Regions from separate parts of the Homo sapiens genome. Here region 2 is linked to region 1. The links are contacts of gene promoters, found by promoter capture Hi-C in human tissues and cell types (Jung and others, 2019). All regions are on one chromosome and are shown on one strand. The core of a region is centred on a gene start or on the middle of the fragment in contact, and the rest is flanking DNA. Distances in the headings are between cores, read along the strand shown.

Region 1 (4,013 bases), core at 517-3,016:
AATAGGTATTTAACAAATATGCTTTTCAGGGATTCTCCCCCCAAAAAAGCAAAGGCACACCTCCATATTTCCAGAGATTTCAAGTAGAGACAAAATAGAAGGTTTGGGCTGTATTTAAGATGTAACAGCCTCAGTGTTTTAAAAAGGCAGTATCTCTTCACTCACTCTTCAATAGCCAGTCAATTCCTAAGACATTTACTCAACAAATAAGATGGTTTCTTCTTTCCAGTCTGGAGAAAAAGAAGAAATGCGCTCATAAAGAACATTAAACACACACGCACCCCAAATAAACAAATTTCAATTCCAATACACACAGAGGCGTTGCCTAGCCTGACACAGTCGTCAGATGAGCTACAAGAAATGCTAAAGAGCATTCTTGTCACAACTGGACACGCGGTTCCAACTTGTTCTGCTCTCATACTGATCACTCCCTTGGAGCCTTAACATCTGTATGCTAATTACAGACACGGTGGCCGACGCTAGGCACACACAAATCCGTCTTAATCCCTCCCTTTTGCGTGGATGAAACCTGGTCCAACATTCGTAAAAGCATGCAAACCACACCATTGCTTGGGCGGGCACACTTCGTGCCCCTCCCCTATGCCTTGCCAGCCCCACCCTTCTCACAAACCACCCCTCCTCCTGCTTCTACTCTGACCTGAGCCTAACTAGCTGCTAGGTTTGGTAATAAGATTGAACGAAGACTCAGGAGGCCCTGTGGGCTCCATTATTCTGCATGCCCTGCGAGAACGGCCCACCCCTAGGGACGGCTGCTGCAACTCGAGCCCCACTTGCTGCCAGGAAACCTTTCCCACTGAGGACACCCGGGCATGCGGCGCAGCTCCAGGTCCAGGGGGAAGCACCCCACCCATCTGCCAGAGAGACAAAGATCACCAGAAACAAAGGACACACACACACACACACACACACACACACACTCGCACACTCAAAGTCAAAAGCAAATACCGACACTTGCAATTTCAAACCAAACAGTCGGCTTGGTCTATCTAAATAGATCTGGAGACAATCTAGGAGGGACAATGATTATGTGGTAATGACAGGCACTATCTGGGTTCGGAACCCACGCTGCCTCCGCCCTCCTCCCACCCGCGCTGCAGTTCCCAGGCGCATTTCCCAGCCTCAGGACACACGCTGCCAGAAGCAAGAGTGCTTCCACTCAAGGAAGCGCGCACACGCCGGAGACAGAGGCAGGGCGAGGGCAGCCAAAAGTAGGAAACACCCACCTTTAGGATCCCAGTTCACCTGTTTTCTTGGCGTCTCGATTGGAAATTTCATTGCTTCGTTGCCCAGAAGGGGAAGAAATGAAAAGAACCCAAATAATAATAAAGTCCTCAAGCTTTACACGCCTCGGTTTAGCAGTCCAACAAAACAATTTCCGAGGATGGGGGAGCCTTGGACTGGCTCGTGGAGGAACCCCAGAAAAAGACAGGTGGGAAAATATTAGCTTGGGGGAGAACTGGAGAGGGCTTGGGTGTTTGCACCGGCCAGGGGGTGGCCGGCCGCGGCCCCGTGGGTAAAAGAAAAAGTAAGATCGGCGAGGGGTGGATGAAAGGATGGAGAGGAAGGCTTGGGGAGATGGAAGAGCCAAGCTGCTTCCCAAAAGCGGTGCCGGCAGGTTAGGGGCTGCGCAGCCTGAAGGCTGGGGCTACGGAGAAGCCCACTGCAGTGTCACTCCAGCCCCCGAAGGCGTGTGCGCACACACTCCCGCACACACACACCCGCACACACACTCCCGGGCGCGCGCTTGGGCGGGCACGTCAGCCTCGCTCGGCCGCGCTGAGCGCACACGCCCCACCCCGGCCGCGGCTCCTCGCCCCCGGCGACGCCCCCCACTTCCCGCTCCCCGAAAGCCATTGGATGTAGGGGTGGCGCGGCGCCCGGGCAGCGCGCGGCGAGGGCGACCCTCCCCGCGGCGCGCCCCAGACGCCGCGCCCCGGCAAGAGGGAGCAGGGCGAGCAGCGGACCGAGGCTCCCAGCTGGGAAGGCGCGCTGAGCCCCCGGCACCCGGCTCGGGGCAGCGGGAGGCGGTCGCGGACTTGCCCGCGGGGCGGCGGGAGGCGGTGGGCGGTGGCGGGGAAGCCGCGGAGGGGCGGGGAACGAGCGGTGGGCGCGCCGCTACTTACTGGCTCGGCCGGCCGGCGGGCGGGCGTGGAGGCGGCAGCGGCGCGCTTGCTGGAGTTGCAGCCGGAGACACGCTTGGTTGCCTGGAAGGCGCTGCAGGAGGCGGAGGAAGGGCCGCTGCGGCTCCGCCGCAGACCTCGGCCTCCGGGTCACCTCTTCTCACCGCTCTCACCCTGAGCTCTCCCTCCTTCTCTTTTCTCACTTCATTTTTTTTCCTCCCGCGTCTGGCTCTCTCGCCTGAGTCCCGAACCCACGTCCCCGCCGCACTCCAAGGAGGCCCGTGCCAGCCATGAGCCTTTTGTTCTGGGACCGCTCCGCATCTGCTGCGCTCTCCCCGCCCGGGGAAGCTCGCTCCCAAGGCACAGCTTGGTCCCTTCCCCAGCTACCTGCAGCCGGACTGGGGCCGCTGGTCGTTGGCTGGAAAGGAGGCTTGAGAGAGGCACGGGGGCCCCCGGAGGAAAGCGGAGTTGCCAAGACCCGGCAGCTCCCGGAAGCGGCGGCCCCGGGATCCTGGGACCAGCAGGGCAGATGCGAAGGGACCCAGACCTGTTCCCGGAAAGGGGCTAAACCTGGAGCATTCGTCTAACGCCCTCTCACTGCCCCTGCTTGAAGCCCCACAGGGGTTTGTGGTGGGGCCTCAGTCTTCAGAAAAGCCAGGTGGTGCTGAGGTGCTCTTGAACGGGTCACTCCGAGTATCAACATGAATGATGCTGACAAATTGCTTCGGATGCCTCGCAACGGAGCCTTACACGTAGTAGGTGCTCAAGAAATACTTGCTAAATGAAGACATGAATTGCATGCTGCAGTGTTGGATAGGAAGTAGTTTAAACCCCTACTCTGGCTTCCAGATAAGGTTACTAAAATTTGTTGTTCATTCAACATATATATTGAACCCCTTCCAAGTGCCATCACTGTGCTATGTGCTGGCCATATGGCAGAGAACAAGACAGAGATCTTGCCTTCATGGGGCTTACTATCTAGTGCCATAAGGTCCTGTTAGATTGTTGTTGCCTTTACTTACGCATAGAAATTGCCCAGCTCATTCCTATGCCTGCCAGCTGGGGTCCTAAAATCCCACACTAGCAGCTGATCTCTAAGTTGCATGCTACTCTACGGCACCTTGAGGCTTCTGGGGAGCCCTATGTCAGCAGCATCTTTCTCACCATCCATCCGTCACTATCACATCAAGGTTTCTGAGTCCAAGAGCAAGACCTACAGAGGTCCGCTGTGGTCTGTGGGAAAGGTGAGTGCTTTGTCACTGGGCTGTCACAGGCACCCCAGGCTGGAGCCCTGAATTCTCTGCAAACCCCGTTCAGGCAAAACTGGTACCAATCTGATGGTGCTACTCTGACTCTTCAGCCCTTTAGGCAGGTTCCCGGGTGCTTCAGAACCATCTTCCCTGGACTCTGTAACCACACTTTGCCTCTCTCTACTAGGACTGGGAGGATGGCTAAGACATAGAAATCAAACAAACAAGGAATCTCTGCTTCTCCCAGCCATGCCCCGAGACACCAGTGTGTATGTAAATTCTGTTCTCAAGTCCAGAGGGAGATGCTTCTAAGAAAGGCTTTCGAACCTCCCTCTGCGCTCTTCTCTTTAACTGTTCACGGACAGCTGGACTCTAGCACAGTCACTGCAATACAATGTTTTTTACATGCATCAGAGTCAGAGAGGGGCTTCAGCAGAGAAAGACACCCTCTCCTGAGTCCTCAGAGCACGGGGAGGCAAGATTGACATTTACTGAATTCCCCCTCACCATCTCATATTTCCTCTCCATTCATCTTTGTTAGATCATTTTGCAGAAGCTGTAACTGGCCTCCTTTTACAGATGAGAAGATCAAGGCTCAGAGAGATAAAGAAACATTCCCAAG
Region 2 (4,445 bases), core at 563-3,062, 71 kb before region 1:
AAAACAGAAACAAAAGAATTTTTTGCTTTCCTTCTGTGAAAGTTCTAAATGAAGGGCTCTTGGTCTTCAAACAGATACAAAGGCTGGGCACAGTGGCTCATGCCTGTAATCCCAGCACTTTGGGAGGCCGAGGTGGGCAGATCACAAGGTCAAGAGTTCAAGACCAGCCTGGCCAATATGATGAAACCCCGTCTCTACTAAAAATACAAAAATTAGCTGGGCGTGGTGGTGCACACCTGTAGTCCCAGCTACTAGGGAGGCCGAGGCAGAAGAATCGCTTGAACCCAGGAGGTGGAGGTTGCAGTGAGCTGAGATCATGCCAAGGCACTCCAGCCTGGGAGACAGAGCAAGACTCTGTCTCAAAAAAAAAAAAAAAAAAAAAGAACAGACACAAAAAGCACCATTCCTTCATTCCTCAAGCCTTTAGCATTTTCTATTGGCCAGCCACTGTGCCAGGCAGAAGGGATATATTGATAAAAGACATAGATTCAACTTCAAAGAGCTCACAGTCATGGAAAGAGGACAGAGAAAAGTAAAGGTCATCCAAGAGAGTCTAGCAAATGGGGGGCAAATGGTGCCAAGCAGGACACGACCCAACATAAAGGGCCCATAAAGGCTTCCCCCAAGAGTTGAGTTTTGGCACCACTGAGGACAATTGAGTTCAGAACTCCAGAGCAAAACACTTAGCAGAGTGCCACAGTTGCCACTCCATAAATGTTTAGTTATTGAATTAATGAACAAATAACTTAAAACCCTTTGGGTTTATACGAAGAACCAAAATGGCAATGTACTGATTGACCAGATTATATCACTCTGCTACTGAAAACATAACTGTAAGCTTCACAGTGCTCTTAAGATAAAATTCAGAATCAGCACCTGCGTGGTTTGGCTCCTGCCTGTCTCCAGCCAAATTGCTTTCTAAGTTCCCTTTGCTAAATGCCCTTTGGCCACATTTGCTCACTTCTCTCAAGTCCTCAGCCATGGCATGTTGCTTCCTCCCATCCAGGGCCTTGACTCAGCCCTCTCTGCCTGGAATCTTTGTCCTACTAAATCAGTTCTCCTATTTGGGTGTCCCATAGCTCTAGCTCCCTCTCCTTTGCAACTTTCATCTGGCTTTTAGTTACAATTATTTGTGTAATAACATGCATAAGGTTTGGCTCTCCCACTGTCTATAAGTAGGGTCACTATATATTTTATATTTCAAACCAAGACACTTTTTTTTTAATATAGATGGGGTTTTGCCATGTTGCCCAGGCTGGTCTCAAACTCCTGAGCTCAAGTGATCCGCCTGCCTCAGCCTCCCAAAGTGCTGAGATTATAGACATGAGCCACCACGCCCAGCCCCAGGACACTTCTGAGAGAGAAAGGGGCACTATTAACAATTACTCCAGAACCACAAAACCTGGGACATTTGGTCATCCTAGTTATAAGCTCCAAGAAGGCAGGGACCATGTCTGTCTTTTATTCACCATTACATCCCAGCATCTAGCACAGTAGGCAATCAACAAGTTTGTTGAATGAAAGAATGAATAAGTGAGTGAGCAAATGAGTAAGTGAGTGAGCAAGTGAGTGACTCGGGTCTTGGCAGAAGGGCAGAGCCACAGCCTTGGGAAATGTTTATGGGTCATGCAAATTACCAAGGAGATTACCAACATCTCCTTGGTTATGGAGAGAACAGTTTGACAGTTCATAATATCTAGTCCTCTCATCTGCAGAATAGCAGCTTTGGTTGCCATGACAACATCAAAGGTTCATACCCAGGACCACAGCACAATACCCACTCCTCACATGCCGCTGCCCACATCTTAGACTAAATCTTTCTCCACTAAAACATGGTAGAGTCAGGCCCAATGCGCACAGCCAATAAAATGAGTCAGTAAGCCAGAGGCCAACAATCTGGCACCCCAGCCTTGTCATGCAGGCTCTCTGTATGTCAGAAAGGTTACAAATACAGGAAGAGGACAGGAGAGAGAGCTCTGCGTTAGAAGGCAAGCACTAACTGTCACAAAGGAGCCTGCTCATCATGTTGTTTGAGTGGGTTTTCCCTTCGTCAGGAGGAATTTGTCTTGATCCAATTATGTACTCTCTAAGCCCACCGTGTCAAGCCAAGGAGAGTACGATTAAGAGAGCGTGGCCTCTGGAGTCAGAGAGATCTAGCTAGACTCAAGTCCTGCTTTGGTCACTAGCTAGATGCAAGAACTTTACCCTCTGTAAAATGGGGCAGCAACAGTGGCCGCCTCTTGGTGCAATGGAGAGAGGCAAATGAAGCTAAGTAATATATGTAAACTCTCTAGCACCCAGCCAGCACAGAATCAGTGCCTAATAAATAATGCTGACTGGAAAGAGTCAGGGGAGCAGAGGATAGGGAAGGATTTGTTAAACAGGACATAATTACAGCAAGATAACAGGAATAAATTCTAGTGTTCTATACCACTGCAGGATGGACTACAGTTAACAATAATCTAGTATATAGTTTCAAATAGCTAAAAGGAGGATATTGAACGTTCCCAACACAAAGAAATGATAAATGTTTGAGATGATGAATATGCTAATTTCCCGGATCTGATCATCATACATTGTAGGTATGGAAACATCACGAGGTACCTCATAAATACATACAATTATTATAGGTCATTTTTAATTTTTTAATGAAAAAATAATAAATCTTGCCAAATAATACTCATCAAACACAGTACTGAGCAAAGTATCTGAAACTCTATTTGGAAAGGATTAAAAAAAAAATCCTTAGCCGGCACAGTGGCTCACACCTGTAATCCCAAAACTTCGGGAGGCTGAGGTGGGCAGATCACCTGAGGTCAGGAGTTTGAGACCAGTCTGGCCAACCTGGCAACACCCTGTCTCTACTAAAAATACAAAAATTAGCTGGGGTGGTGAAGTAGCCTGTAATCCCTGCTACTTGGGAGGCTGAGGCAGGAGAATCACTTGAATCCAGGAGGCAGAGGTTGCAGTGAGCTAAGATCTCACCATTGCACTCCAGTCTGGGCAACAGAGTGAGACGCCATCTTGGGGGCAGAGAGGGGAAGCCCATAGACGTCATAAAGTGAAAACCAATGGTAAAGTTTCTGTTCACCAACATAAAGAGTCACTGGACCAGTCAGGGTGAGGGGGAGAGAGAGAGAGAGACAAAGCAGGTGGGAAGAGACCCCCCAAAAGGCTCATGCTCCAGGCAGTTCCAGACCTAGCCCCAGCCATGCAGATGAAGGCCCCGGGACTTTCTTCAGACAGAAAAACTATCATGAACAGACAGTGACCATTTTGCATTGGAGAGACCCCTCTTGCTGGAGGCAAGGACTGAAGTGAGCCAAGGAAGAAGGCAGCCTACCAGGGAGTGAGATAACCTGCTCACTCTGAGGGGATTAGACCAACCTGCCCCCAGAAACATTCTCCAGAGAGAGAGGAATAGACCCCTGTCGTTTGCTTTATGGCAAGGCACTTAGAATGAAAAATCCCATGTCCTTCCCGATGGGTGCCTCATCCAACCCTAAACCCACTCCCGTGAAATGCTATTCCCTTCAGCGAGGCTATGACCAGAAGAAATGGCAGCCATGGGACCACTCGAGCTCCCCTGAAGACACTCAAAATCTTCAAACATCTGGGAAACATCAGAATTCATAACCTGAAAAAAGACTGCTGCCAATGATCATCCCTGCAAACCGAAGCATTCATTCTACGCTTCCCCGTCAGTCAGCGAAGGCTCCTCACGATTTTATTCTTTGAGGATCACAAAAGAGGAATGTTTTATGGCTTTCTCCAAGACTAGTCAGTATAGAAGCTTCTAAGACAATTGCACTGGGAACAGGGAGATAAGCAATTGCGGCATGTGAGGACGTCAAAGATAAAGGCTTTCTTGGGACACAGTGACCGCCAAATCAAGTTCATGGAAACCTCAACTTCAAAAATACATTTAATTTACTTTATTCTACTGCCAAAGAAATGCAAGTACTCCAGGTATAATTATCTTTGTCTACTCGGTTCGCTTGAGAGAAGAAAGACGGGTGGGAGAAGGAAATAGCATTTCCTGATGCCAGTGACATGCCAGGCACTCTGCTAGGTTCACTCACTCCCCACAATCATCCTAATGAGGACTGTGATCCCTTTAATATGAGGAGGGGCCTTAGGTTTAGTGGTGTTGAGGGACCAAGTCTATCTGATATAACGTCCATGATCATTCCCCTTCTAACACACCCTTTCTTTGAAAACACAATATTCCCCACGTGGAGTGCTATAGCACCATGCCAGACAGCCCAGTTTCTTGAATCATGTTTCCTTCTCCCTCCAGCCTTTTCCTTGGAGTAAAAGCTTTATGAAGAGGTCTACATATTAGTGAGGGGATACTCACCATTGATGCAAGTAAGCAGTATGGCACAAGGGTTCAGTTGTGTGGGCTCTGGAGTCTGGCTTCCCAGGGCTCAAATCCAAGTTTA

The links. Contacts are between HindIII fragments. The study calls those that stand out against the background at their distance.
Region 2: a contact is called between a fragment that was not itself captured here and the fragment with the promoter of KCNK10 in region 1, in 3 of the 25 tissues and cell types used here (dorsolateral prefrontal cortex, hippocampus and spleen).

The regions. Positions count from the first base shown.
Region 1 is chr14:88,321,503-88,325,515 of GRCh38, forward strand. It overlaps KCNK10 (potassium two pore domain channel subfamily K member 10), which reads right to left and starts at 1,767. Exons shown (of 7, transcript NM_138317.3): 1 at 1,245-1,767. The coding sequence starts at 1,296. RefSeq lists enhancers at 1,113-1,772, 2,345-2,404 and a silencer at 2,055-2,294. The HindIII fragment of the contact is 9,751 bases long and covers 1-4,013 here.
Region 2 is chr14:88,250,872-88,255,316 of GRCh38, forward strand. The region is part of intron 2 of KCNK10 (potassium two pore domain channel subfamily K member 10); the gene reads right to left. Among named protein-coding and RNA genes, the nearest start is that of KCNK10, 70 kb to the right of the region's middle. The HindIII fragment of the contact is 4,487 bases long and covers 1-4,056 here.